2 separate regions of the Homo sapiens genome follow, and region 1 is linked to region 2. The links are contacts of gene promoters, found by promoter capture Hi-C in blood cells and fetal thymus (Javierre and others, 2016). All regions are on one chromosome and are shown on one strand. The core of a region is centred on a gene start or on the middle of the fragment in contact, and the rest is flanking DNA. Distances in the headings are between cores, read along the strand shown. Region 1 holds the start of PANK4 (pantothenate kinase 4 (inactive)). Region 2 holds the start of CCNL2 (cyclin L2).

Region 1 (6,773 bases), core at 482-2,981, 1.1 Mb after region 2:
GCATGGCTGGGGAGCCTCTGGTGAGGCCTGCGGTAGACAATCCCCTAGGCTAGGGCTGCAAGCTCAGCACCTGCAGCCCAATAACCAGTCAGTCCCAAGTCCTATCAGCGGTCCCTAAAGATGCTACTCACACGTTCTCATACCTGGCACCAGGCCACACCCCCTAAGAAGCATTGCCTCCCATAAGCTCACTGAAAGGTGGGAGCCAGGACCTATAGCTACTTCCATTCTCATCGCCCCCCACTTCCCTAGAGGACACCCTTCCCTGGCTGGACATCTCAGAGAGATGATGACACCAACAACCCCGAGGACACCACAGCAGCAAACATGTCAGATGCACCAGGAGCACACAGCTCAGAGGGAATGGCCTGGGTCTCTCTGAGTCCCAGCTTTTCCAGGGAGGTGGGAAGCAGTCAGCGGCAGGCCCATTCATCCCAGTATTTACTGGGCGGCAAAGACAGGTTGGGCATCCTTTTCGGGGGCTGGGGCTACAAGACACACCGCTGCTCTTGTGGGATTCACACACAAGCAGACTCAGCCTACGACCGAGATGAGTGCTAAGAGGGAGAGGTATGTGAAGCCGCAGCGGCTATTCAAGGGGGGTTTCTCCAGGTGAAGCTGCCCCCAGGAAGCCCTCATGCCTGAAACATGGGCAGAGTAGGAGAGCAGGGAGTGGCTGGTTCAAATCCTGGTTCTGCCACTTTCTAGCCCGATGACCCTGGGCAAATTAGTTCACCTTTCTGGGGCTTGGTATCCTCATCTGCGAAAAGGGAGTAATTCGCGTTCCTCCCCTAGAGGTGGCTGGGAGGTGTCCGGGAGTCAGGAGCGTGGGAAAAAGGTCTAGAACAGAGCCTGGCCCGCCGTCATTACTGAGAGCACAGCCATCAGGCAGGAGGGTCTGCAGCGGACCCTGGAGAGGCCAGGGCAGAAGTGCAGGCCGCCTTAAAGGCCACGGAAGGCACGGGTGGCTTTTAAACCAGAGGCACGAGTTCCCAGGTCCCACGTCCACGGCCGCCTGAACTCACGCCCGGCGTCCACTCTCCAGAGAGCGGGGCCTGTGCACGGACTGTCCGGCCCGCGGGCCACAGCTGGCCACGCCGCGGGAACGCGCGGCCTTTTCGGGGCCACTCTGCCAAGGGCTTCCCGCCGAGCTCGTCCTCGTCTCGACCAGAACTAAGGACCCCAAATCTCAGGCCAGCCACCAGCCAAGCGGCGGAGCCGGGGCGCCCAGATGCCGATGTGGCCGAAGACATAAAATTCCGCCGACCCTCCCACCTCGCGGCGGGTAACGCTGGACCCCGGCCCCCAGCCACCCAGGACGGCCGCGCGAACTACCAGGCCCGGCAGGCCCCGCTCTGGTCCCTGCGGCGCCTGCCGGTAGCTGTAGTCCGGCCGTCGCCCCGAGCCCGCGCATCAGCGACCCTGCGGACTACAAGGCCCGTGAGGCTGTGCGCGGGCCCGCGGACTACAAGGCCCGTGAGGCTGTGCGCGAGGCCCGCGCCCCCGCCCTTCGTCCTTCCCGCCGCCCCCGCTCGCCGGCCCACCGCCGGCGCCCCGCCCGCCCCCGCAGCCCGCGCCCGGCGCCCGGCCTGCGGCTACCTATGTCGATGGCGAAGCGCTTGGCGTTCTCCAGGTTGCGGAAGATCTCGTCGGGGGGCAGCGTGATGCTCTTGTCCAGACTGTCCCCGCTGCTCCCGCTGCCGCTCGCTCCACACTCCGCCATTTTGAAAGTGCCCGGCCAGCTCATCAGCCATGGAGATATATGCGCATATATTTGACTGCCAAACGCCCCCTCGCATAGATTATGTTAATGAGGCGCCGGCCCCGCCCCTTCCCTCCCCCACCCCCGGCCTCTGAGGTCTCGGCCGCTACAGGGCGAGCTAGGGCCAGTGCTGGGCAGGGGTCCGAGAGGCCCGGGGCTGCGGGCGGGCGGGCGGTTATCCTCCAGAGATCGCGCATCAGCACAGAACATCTGGACTGATGTTCTTTTACCGCGCTGTCCACAGGCTTAACTCAAGTGCTCTGAGCCCTGCTGAGGGAGGCCGCAGAGGCCGCCCACCTGCTTCTAAGGGGGCACGTGGGTCTGCAGACTGTCAGAGAGCCCTGCCCTTCAGCGAGTGCCTGCTGTAAGCTTGGCCCTGCACGCCAGGGCGAATGTGATGCGCTCTTTGCTAGGGTGACTCAATCCTGGCTTCCCAGGGGCGTGGGACTTTCAATGTTAAAAGTCCCATGCAAACCAGAGGAGTGGGGAACCCTGCCCCACCTGGGAGGAGCCCCAGCCTGGCATGCACCTGCGGGTAGGGAAGATGTGTGCTGTAATGGCGATCCGTGGAAAGTGCTGTGGTCGGGGGAAGCCAGGCAGGCTGCCTGTGGGCAAGACAGGTGCCTGGGAGGCTGCAGGAACAAGCCTTGGAAGCAGCTGGAGCCAGGACAGGGGTATAGGTGGGGCAGGCCAGGGTTCCAGGGTGAGTGGCTGGGAAGCCCTGCTGGCATGAAGAGATGCGTCTTCTCCAGAGGCTCTGGGCGCCTTGGGAAAAAGCCCAGTGTTGGAAGCAGACAGATCAGCCCCTCCCGGGTAACCCGGGGTCATTACTGCATGTCTCTGGCCCTCAGCCTCTGTCTGCACGTGGAGAATGCCACCAGCTGCCTGGCAGGGCTCCTGGGAGCACAGGCCTGTGGGGCGGCACAAACTCCAGGGATAATGCATCTGTGTGCGCAGGGCAAGCCTTCAGGGAGGAGGCATCCTTGCCTGTGTCTTCCAAGGGGGTGGGTGTGTGGCTCTGGAGGGGGAGCCTGCCCCAGGGAGGCCTGGGTGGAAGAGTGGAGCACACCCCAGGCGGCTTAGACCTCTGGCAGCTCAGACCCCTGGCAGCATGGTGTGCCATGGGCCAGGCTGGCAGGAGGTGCCCTCCATGAGGGGCGCCCACCTGTGTGCCCACTGAACATGCGGGAAACATGCAGGTGAATGGGGGCCTTCCCTGTCCTCTGCCCACCATACCCCGGGGCTCGGTAGGGACCACTGGCAGGCACTGGGTTGGTCTGGTGGGGGGACCCTGTCTAGACTGCCTGTGGAGTAGCCAGAAAGGGGCTGAAGGCTGAGCGGAGCGAGAGGGGCTGAGCAGGAAGGAGCAGGCAGGGCAGGCCCACACACGGGGCTACCATTCAGCGGGGGTGGGAATGCGGCCCACTCCGGCCCAATCCTTGCTGGATGGATTTTGCCCCTTGGGAGCTGGTCCCTGGGAGCCACAGGCCTCAGTTCTTGCAGACTCAGCCAACACCCTGTGGCCTGCCTAAAAATACATGCCCTTTCTGAGGCAAGGGATGGCCCCGTGCAGGCTCCTGCCAGGACTGCCAGATCCTGCCTTGGCACGGTGGCCAGCGGGCAGGTGTCCCCGGAGCCCATGCCAGGACTGGCGCTGCAGGCCGTGGGAGTGTGCAGCAGCAACTCGGGGCAAATGTTTTCTCCTGTTTGGCCCAGGGCCAAGCCCCTTTGGCTGTAGCAACAGATCTACTGCGGGCTGTGGCCCTGGGTCGCCTCTCAGTGGACACAGCCTAAGGTCCTGCGCTGTCACCTTGCCCCACCCCTACCTTCCGGAAGCTAGTGAAAGGCCTGGGCGGGGGGAGACCCAGGGCTCCGACCATGTCCACCCCTCCAGCCCACCTCCCCCTGCCCCTGCCCCTCACCTGCTTTCCCTCCATCCCTCCCTCCCCCTGTTCTTCCGGAGCAAGGACCCCACCCTTCTTCCGGGGTCCAGGGGGCCACTGGCAGGGGTCCCTCCCTGCTTAACTGCTACCATGGCCCTGCCCATTCCCCTTCACCCCTGCAGACCCGCTCCATGGCTGCCAAGGACAGGCGTGAGGCACAGCAGACGACACTGTGTTGGGGGCTGAACAATCAGATTTTATTATGGCGGCTTCGGAGCAGTCCCGTGGCTTCCACGTGACTGAGAGTTCAATTTCTGAGTACAAAGTCGTGCCCACACGCATCCACCCACACAGAGGAATCCTTTAAGGATCATAGTGGAGGCACCCACCCTCCCCAGACAGCCCACCGTGAGCCCCAGCCAGACCACCAGGCACACTCAGGAGCCTTTTGGCCATGGCCCTCAGGGTCCTGGACGCCCGTCCGGGGTGATCACTGTTTCCTATGAGGATACAGCTCGAGTTCGGCCTTCACAAAAGGCAAATGTGCCCGCGGCACAGCCCGCCTGCCAGGGGTACGCCCAGCAGCTACGGGCCCTGAAGAAAGTCCTCTACAGGCTGGGGGCAGCAGTGTGCGAGCCCCGGCACTACAAATATCATAGAACCCCGGGCGGCCGGGGACTTCCCAGAAGTCACTTGCTTAAATGCAAACACAGAACAACCCCATGGGGTCAGACACTTGGCAGAAGATGGGCCCTGATTGTCCTAAAACGGCAGGGACTCTGCACACACATTCTCTGAGAATGGGGCTCCTGCGGGCCGGCCAGCTTGGGGCCAGAGCCTTCCGGAGAAGGGCGCGTCCAAGCCCGGGGCGGACGACGGCGGGAAGGCGCTTCCCTACAGGCGAGAGGAGCAGGCTCGCCCTCTGGTCGTCGGGCCGCGCGCCCGCAGGTCCCGCCGGGTCACCAGGGCCGCCAGAGGCCGCAGGCGGGCTGGTGCGCGGCGGCGGCGGCGGCGGTGGCCTTGGCGGAGAGCGCGGGCGGGGGCGCGGCGCCCGGCGCCTTGGGCTCCTTGGCGGGCGCGGCGGGCGCGGCCGGGGGCCGCTGGAAGTGGTACAGCAGCTTCATCTGCGTGTCGCTGGCGGCGTGGAGCGTCAGGAACTGCACGGCCTCCTGCAGGCACCACGAGTAGCCTTCGCTGTAGTCCTGGTGCAGGCTCTTGGGGCCGGCGGCGGCGACGAAGGCTGCGGGGAGACGCGGCGGCGGTGAGCGGGCGGCGGGGCGCGGGGGAGCCGGGGCGCGGTGGGAACTCGGGGCGCGGGGGGCCCGGGCGCGCTCACCTTTGCTGTGCTTCAGGTAGCTGACAGCCATCTCCAGGATGTCGGCCTTCTCCAGCTTGGAGTTGGGCTGGTGCCGCGCGAACTCCTGCTCCAGCAGCAGCTTCAGCTGCTCGATGCTGCTGTTGATGCGGTCGCGGCGCATCTTCTCCACCACCGGCTTCCGCAGCTGCGGGAGGAGGGGGTGTCAGGCTGGCCCGGCACGGCGCAGGGACCCCCGAGGACCGGAGGCCGCGGGGACAGCGCGCCGGGCGAGTCTGGTACTTACTCGGTTTTTCTCTTTGGGGCTGAGCAGCTCCACGGCCACAGTGCTGGGGGCCATGCCTGGCGCGGAACAGGCGACGAGGCGACGCGGGGAGGCCGGGCGAGACGAGGCGAGCGGGCGCGGGCAAGGCCAAGCGCGTCCCGGGCTGGCGCGGACACCGGCCCCGCGCGCCGACGCCCTATATAGGCGCGGGCGGCGGCCTGGCGCCTGGAGTCCGGGCGCCGCGGCCGTTCCCACACTCCGCGGCCAATGGCCGGGCGGGCCGCACAAAGGCGCCGGCCCATTAGCGCACGCTAAATTGCCTGTGAATTGGCGCGGGCACAATGGGCGCTCCCCAAGGAGCAGGTGGGCCGCGCGGCACAATGTCCGGGCTGTGGGAACGCGCTCGCCCTCATTAGCATCCCGGGGCCTGATGCCGGGAGCCCCGCGCCTCAATATGCTGCCTTTTCCCAGGCCGCCAAACGGGAGGGGGGCAGGAAGGAGGGCCCCCTCCCCCGCCCTCCCCTCCGCTCCCCTCCCCTGCCTCTCCCCAGCGGCTTCCCACTGCTGGCTGGCAGAGGCCGTAGGAGCAGATAAGGGAAAAACTGTAGAATGAACAAGTGCCACGGCTTCCTGGGGGATGGGCACCTTCCCTGACTGGGACCTGCTGCCCCTCCAGGGGAGGGGGACAGAGGGGGCGACGCTCTTAGGATCAGTCCTACGTGCCTATATTACAAGCCCCCTGACTGTCACCTGGGACTCCTGACTTCTCCAGACCTAGAAAATGGGCCTTGTGCCTTCCTGGCTGGGCTCCGGGCAGCTCCAGGAAGCTGGGGCCCGTGCTCCACGTGGAGCCCGGCACCCGGCAGCTCTCCCCGCGGAGCCGGGCACCCGGCAGCTCTCCCCGCTTCCTGCACCCTGTCCTCCCAGGAGCACTGTAACCCACAGCAGCACTGGGGCTGCTCCACGAGCTGGCAGGTGTCCCTCAGGGGCCTCTCCCCACCCCTATCTGGCCAGGGATCTGACTACAGTGTCCACGCAGCTCGGGAGGCCTCGGCTCTTGGCATGCTTGCTGTGGCCACTGTTTATGCATGCCACAGCTCCACCTAGTCTCTCTGGCAGCCAGGGCACTTGTAGGGCTTGCTTTCCTCTGGCATTTTGCCAGTGGGTAGGGAGTGGGTGCCAGGTGGCAGACTTGAGGATCAGAGGCCATGCCAGCCCTAGCCCCCCGCCCCCAACCACCGGTCCATGGGATGAGCTAATAACCCCGGTACCTGGCCAACTGAGCTGAGTGCCCGCAGCCACTTTGAGGCAATGAATCCCACCCTGGGTCCTTAGGGGAGGGTCCCTTGGGAGACCCCCACCCCCTAGCCTGCGGTCACAGTTCCTCAAATGCTCTGCAGCAGAGACTAGGAGAGGATTCGGGGCCTGGGCTGGCTCCTAGAGACAGGTTGGGACCCTGCCGGGTCCTAGCGGAAGGGCCTTAGCCCCCAGAGCTGGGGCTGGCATCAGGGCTGGTTAGGCAGAGTTTGAATCCAGGAGTGGGGTTCC
Region 2 (6,434 bases), core at 652-3,151:
CAGGTGTGAGCTCCCACATCTGGTATGAGAGAATTTCTGGCTGTCACATCTAAGGTGGGGTACTCCTGTCATCCAGTGAGTCGAGACCAGGGATGTTGCTGAATCCTGCAGCACACAGGAGAATCCCCTACAACTAAAGATTACCCAGCCAGATGCGGTGGCTGAAATCTGTAATCCCAGTGCTTTGGGAGGCTAAGGCCAGCAAATCCTTGGAGCCCAGGAATTTGAGACCAGCCTGGGCAACACAGCATGACCCCATCTTTACCAAATAAAAAATAAAAATTAGCTGGCATGGTTGGCGTGCTCCTATAGTCCCAGCTACTCAGGAGGCTGAGGCAGGAGAAACTCTTGAGCCTAGGAGGTTGAGGCTGTAGTGAGCCATGATCATACCACCGCACTCTGCCCTGGACAACAGGAAACCTGTCTCAGGAGGAAAAAAAAGATTATCCAGCCTGAATGTCAATAGTGCTGAGATTAAGATTCCCTGCTCCAGAGCACTCAGAAACTTGTGGGACAGAAGCAGCAGCAGGGCCGTGCACTGACATGGGTAAAGCAGGAAGCCAGCCCCAGCGCGACCCGCCACAGCGCACTGTCCTCACTGGAGCCCCTGCCCTTACTAAACCGCATCTACTGATGCCTCTGAGCAGGCTCTGTTGGTGGAGCTTGAGACTGCGCTCATGAATATCCCACAGGTTTAGAGCCTCAGGCCTGTATTGTGTTATACAAGCCTTACTGTAACTTAATCAGAAATAAAGAAAATAGGCATCTATGATAGACTAGACAGCTCTGACTGACTCACTTTTTGTCTCTCAGCTGTCGAAGGCGGTGAAACACATTGATGACGTCCCGTATGCGTCTTGGGGCCTCTTCTATCTTGGAAGCCAGGTGGACACAGGCCATTGACACATGCTGAAGCGGAAGCATTGCAACACGCCCATGTTTGTCCCCAGCCACGGCGTCCTGACGGCCGCCAAAGGCTTGAGGGCTATTCAGACCAAAAGGGAGGTGCACCCAGGGGAAAAAAAAAGTCAAGAAACAGAACCCTCCGGCACAGAGCTCAGACTGGGGGGCAAGTACTCACTCCCTTAGTAACCGGGCAAAGTAACAAACCGTTTTACCCTCAACATACTTCGCTGGGAATGAAGTGCAGGAGGAAGCCTTACCTCCATGGAGTGCTTCACGAAGGACTTGGTATAAAAGAACCGCTGGAACAACACCTGCCCGGTAGCCATGGCCACCTAGAGTAGAAGAAAGTTTCCGTATTTTCAAACGCACCATTCAAAGCCTTCGCGGCCGAAAGTCATCGAGTAACGTGGGACTCCCCACGCAGAACCAAACACTGAAACGCTTCCCACGTCCACAAAGGCTCTTCGCGTCCCGCCGTCTCGGGATCCAGCGCACTGGCGGGCGGGGAGGCCCCGGGTCAGGGGCATGGGCTGGCTAGGGAATGGCGCCGAGGCTGGGGTCGGGGCAGGGGCTGGGGTCGGGGTCTAGGCGGGGGCGGTGCGGGCCCGACTCGCCGCCAACAAAGGCGGCTGCCGCCCCAGCGGTTACCTGGGCCGGAGGCTCGCGGCCGCGCCCTCACCTGCGGCAGGCGGAGCAGGATACCGGCCGCCTGGATGAGCTCGCAGCCCACCACGCGGAGGTCGGTCTCTGTGTCGGTGTCGAGGCCGCTCGACATGGACGGCGTGAAACGGAGCTTGTCGTCAGGCAGGAGGCAGTTCTCCAAGGTGATGAGCACCCCGGAGTACAGCCTGTCCCCGATCAGCACCCCCTGCGACCCTGAGGGTGCGCCCCCAGATCCCGGGGCGCCGGCCGCTGCCGCGGGAGCTGCCGACCCTGCAGCACCAGCCGCCGCCGCCGCCGCCGCCATTTTGTGCCGCCGACTCCCCTTCGGCTTCTTCCCTCAGGGCGGCTCCTCGCGAAGCTCCACGGCCGCCACCGCCCCGCCCCGTCGCGTGCCATTGGTTCGGCCCGCGACCAGCGCGACGCCGCCTAGCCGCAATTGGCTACATAACCTGCCCGTCAGCAACGCGCCTAACGCCGACGCCGGAACCTGGCGCGGGTGGGGCGGGCTCGTTACCCAGGGGACTCCGCGGTGCCGGCCGACCCGGAAGCATGTCTGTCCCTAGCGGAGGCGCGGGTGCCGTGCTGAGAGCGCCTGCCTGTGCGCCCCGAGCGGGGCTGGGACTCTTCCAAGATGCCCACGTTCGCACAGAGACCCCGGATCGCGGAAGCTCGCGTCTCGAAAGGCCTGTGGGTCAAGGGGGGCCATCTCGGTGGGATCTGGGGCGGGACGACCCCCACTGCTGAACCCTGGGCGCGGGGCAGGGTCAGAGGCTCCGCTCGGCCTCCCCCTGGATGAGACGCGCATGCCCGGTGTCCCCCGGCCGCCGTCGGCGTCGTGTCTTCAGTCCTTATCGACTCCAGACTTTGGGGATGCGTATTAACGCCAGACTCCTGCAAAGTCTTGCCTTCAACACTCAGCCCCTGGGGAGAGACGGGTGGAGGGATGACTGGAAACGTGGCCTCGACGTCCCTACAGAGCCCCTCCAGCGTGGGGAGGCCTAAGTACCTCAAGGTTCAGGCCCACGGAAGGAGTCGGGGGAGCGAGGCCCGGTGATCTACGTGTGAAGGAGCTTGGACAGGACCTCACAAACGCCAGGGAGACGGCGAGGGGGTTCGTGCGTTTGTAACGTCTTGACATCGCTGATCCTCCCGCAGGCGGTCTCACGCCCTGCCCGTCCTGGGTTCACGGTTTTTCATCACCTGCGGCTGTCCTGCGATCGACCACAGCTGTGCAGGAGGGGCAGGAGGTATCTGTTGCTGCAGTTACCGGAACCTTTGCCAGGACTAGTACAGGACCACGGGTGAGGATGGTGGGGAAGCCTGCGTGGGGCAGGGAACGGTGAGGCAGGAAGAGGGAAGGGCAGCAGAGGCCTGAGTGGTTGCAGGTTCACACACTGAGCTGCCAGTAACTGCCCAGCTCAGACGGGCTCAAATTCAGAAGCCACCATTGCTCCTCACCCCCACCCCCAGGTCAGCTGTCCACTAGCTCTGCCATGACTTGATACTGCAGCTCAAACAGTGCCAACCAAAACCCACTCTCCTCACCGCCTGTTATGGGTAACACGGTATGGTTACAGCTTTACTCATGTCCTCTTTCCCCAGGCTGGTAGCTCAGGGATGTCTCGTCTGTGAGTTACAGCTGCACGCTCTCCAGGAAAGAAGGAATTTCCTCTTCTCTGGAAACCCCACCACACAGCTGGTTTCTCATTGGTGCTGCTTGCCCATTCCCTGAGCTGTGACTGCCAGAGGAGTGGGAGGTTGGTGGTGCCTCCAGCCCATCAGGGGCAGGCCCTGGGACCGCCTGGGAACAGGAGGACTATGGCACAAACCGAGTGAGTGATGGGAGCAACCCGCAGGGCTCTGCCACATCCCTGTCTTCCTTCACTGACATGAAACGCAGAAAAGGCAGCTTTGCCACAACACAGGAGCACGCACCGAATGTGGCCGCCCAGGGCTCTGTCCTTGACCCTGTTGTCCAGGACTGTTTACCAAGGGCTGACAGGCACTGAGTGCCCCGTGCACCTGGCCAGACACTGCACTCATGCAGCGGAAAGGACAGTGAACGAGACTTTGTCCCTGGCCTCCAAAGGCTTAGGGCGTAGTGGCTGTCATGAGGCACAGTGACAAGGGCCAGGAGGGGGACCTCTTAGGGGGCCATGCAGTGATGGAAGCCAGAAGGAATGAAGGCCTGCAGTGAGGATGGAGTGGTCGGCCTGAAGCCATCTCTAGCAAGTGGTCAGGACGCTGATTGTTCTGCGCAGGTTGGAGGTAGGTGGTGAGTCTGAGAAAGGGGCCGGAAAGACTCCCCAGCAACTGCTGGCAAAGGGTGAAGGGCACGTTCCCACAGGATTCAAGCCAGCTGCCTTTGGAGGGGAGACGGGCACTCAGTTTAGGCGCTCCTACAGCAGGGTCAGCAAGACAAGCAGGTTGCGGCAAGGGTCTGCGCACTGCTGTGTAAATGTAGGGGCATCGGGGGGCAGAAAGACCAGGGGAGAAGTGTGCATCACCCTTGGGGTTAAGGGACAGTTGTCTGCTAGGTGTTGCTTCCTGGAGATGGCTGAAAAGCCAGTCCAGTCTGCAGGGACCAGGCCACCACCCACCTGATGTGGGAGCATTTCCCCCAATCCCTGCTGGGCTGCTGAATCTGGGGGACATAGGGAAGCTGAGGCTGGTGTTCTGAGTAGTGGCAGAGCTGAGCCACAGGGCATGTCTGAGGTCAGCCCCGAGCAAAATGGAATAGGGACTCAGGGTGGGTCAGGTAACTGGAAAGCGGGCACTGTGCACGCAGCCCTTGAGGGGAGCCAGGGTGGGTGGGGATCCCCCACTGTGTGCAGAAGGCAGCAGCCTTGGAAGCAGGGTGTGCTCCTCGGTGTGGTCGCTCGATACCAGAAAATGACTCTAAAAACTGAAGAGTGTTTGAGTTTCATTCACACAAAACATGGACATCATCTGTGAGGCTCTGTCCCAGAGAGACAGGGCCATCCCTCATGTCTGTTATTGGGTTGTAGATAAACAAAAGTATAAATCAAACAAACTGCAAATTACTCTGTCTCTTTTCCTAATCAATACAGCAACAGTCCTCAGTGGTACTGCACCACTCTGGAAAAAATGCCTTCAGGTTCCTTCCCATCCCCCAAGGCAGCAGCAAATCCTTCGTGTCGCCTCCTACTGGCCAAGGCAGCCAAAGATTTGAAAGTCTTTGGCTCGTAGATGGCCAGATCCGCTAGGACTTTCCTGTTGAGCTCCACCTGGCACTGAAAAAAGAATGAATCAGAACCTGCTGTCAGTGTGAGACACACACTCCGGCTCCGCGTGGTTGCGGCGCTGGCTCAGGAAGAACCCAGCTGCACACTCGCCTGGGGGGAGGGAAGGCCTAGGAGAATCCTATCTGGGTGGCACAGCAGAGGACTTCCAGGCAGGATGCTGAAGGATAAATGTGGACACGGGTGAGGGAAGCACCTGTGGAATCTGCAGGGAGGCTGGACTCCAGTCCTGATGTCGGCCCGGGGAACCAAACACCTTGTTCAGGGTCCTTGGTCACCACCCTGACTGAGCTGACTGCTGGCCTAGGGTAACCCTTTAAGCCAACCTGGAAGTGCCTGCAAGAACCACAGAGGATTTCAGAAGCTAGTGAACAATGCCAGAGTTTAAGGAGTAGAAAAGGGGGGCCGTCTCTTTGAGCATTAAATTCAGCTACCAAGGCAGGGCACGGTGTCTCGCCTGTAATCCCAGCACTTTGGGAGGCCAAGGCAGGCAGGTCACCTGAGGTCGGAAGTTCGAGACTAGTCTGACCAACATGGAGAAACCCTGTCTGTACTAAAAAATACAAGAAAAAAAACCACAAGGCCAGGCGCGGTGGCTCATGCCTGTAATCTGAGCACTTTGGGAGGCTGAGGCAGGCGGATCACCAGGTCAGGAGATCAAGACCATCCTGGCTAACACGGTGAAACCCTGTCTCTACCAAAAATACAAAAAAATGAGCTGGGCATGGTGGTAGTCACCTGTAGTCTCAGCTACTCAGGAGGCTGAGGCAGGAGAATGGTGTGAACCCGGGAATTGGAGCTTTCAGTGAGCCAAGATCGCGCCACTTCACTCCAGCCTGAGCAACAGAGTGAGATTGTATCCAAAAAAAAAAAGGAACAAAAACACAAAATTCGGCTACCGAGGACAAAGTGGCCTACTACCTGTGACCTAACTGTACTACCTGTGACCTGTATGCTTTGTGCAAAGTCTGTCTCCTTTCTTTCTTTCTTTTTTTTGAAACAGAGTCTCACTGTGTCGCCCAAGCTGGAGTGCAGTGGTGCGATCTCAGCTCATTGCAAGCTCCACCTCCCAGGTTCATGCCATTCTCCTGCCTCAGCCTCACAAGTAGCTGGGACTACAGGTGCCCGCCACCGCACCTGGCTACTTTTTGTATTTTTAGTAGAGATGGTGTTTCACCATGTTAGCCAGGATGGTCTCGATCTCCTGACCTCGTGATCCACCCGCCTCAGCCTCACAAAGTGCTGGGATTACAGGCGTGAGCCACCGTGCCCGGCCAAGTATGTCTCCTTTCTTAACTACAGTTCCCTGAGTAAAATGGGAAAGTCAAACCTCCTAAGCCTACCCTGAAGATCTTTGTAAAGCACCAAAGAGTGCCTTCTGCAAAATACCCACCCCCTCAACCTTTTAGGAAAAACTTAATGTACACAAGCAGAGGGACTAGCATAATGACCAGATTCAGTAATCACCAAGATTTTGCTACACTTGCATAAACCATCCGTTCGCTCCAAAACATTCCCCTTCCTTTCTGTAAGTTCCTATTTCACCTGCTATGTCATCAGAAATCACTCATTATTAAAACTTTTTGTTGTTGTTGAGACACA

What was found. Contacts are between HindIII fragments. The CHiCAGO score rates a contact against its expected background, and 5 or more counts as called.
Region 1: a contact is called between the fragment with the promoter of PANK4 here and the fragment with the promoter of CCNL2 in region 2, in 1 of 17 cell types (neutrophils). The highest score is 8.7, in neutrophils.

The regions. Positions count from the first base shown.
Region 1 is chr1:2,524,865-2,531,637 of GRCh38, forward strand. PANK4 (pantothenate kinase 4 (inactive)) reads right to left here and starts at 1,732. Exons shown (of 19, transcript NM_018216.4): 1 at 1,600-1,732. The coding sequence starts at 1,723. It overlaps HES5 (hes family bHLH transcription factor 5), which reads right to left and starts at 5,399. Exons shown (of 3, transcript NM_001010926.4): 1 at 5,247-5,399; 2 at 4,982-5,147; 3 at 3,881-4,885. The coding sequence starts at 5,300. The coding sequence ends at 4,605. RefSeq lists enhancers at 1,759-2,479, 3,201-3,921, 3,922-4,641, 5,156-5,659. The HindIII fragment of the contact is 7,457 bases long and covers 1-2,129 here.
Region 2 is chr1:1,397,434-1,403,867 of GRCh38, forward strand. It overlaps CCNL2 (cyclin L2), which reads right to left and starts at 1,902. Exons shown (of 11, transcript NM_030937.6): 1 at 1,586-1,902; 2 at 1,164-1,238; 3 at 800-909. The coding sequence starts at 1,873. It overlaps MRPL20-AS1 (MRPL20 antisense RNA 1), which reads left to right and starts at 2,097. Exons shown (of 3, transcript NR_015434.1): 1 at 2,097-2,256; 2 at 2,725-2,870; 3 at 3,172-4,613. It overlaps MRPL20 (mitochondrial ribosomal protein L20), which reads right to left. Exons shown (of 4, transcript NM_017971.4): 4 at 4,476-4,823. The coding sequence ends at 4,650. RefSeq lists silencers at 1,615-1,794, 1,865-2,104, 2,395-2,454 and an enhancer at 2,840-3,383. The HindIII fragment of the contact is 37,128 bases long and covers 1-6,434 here.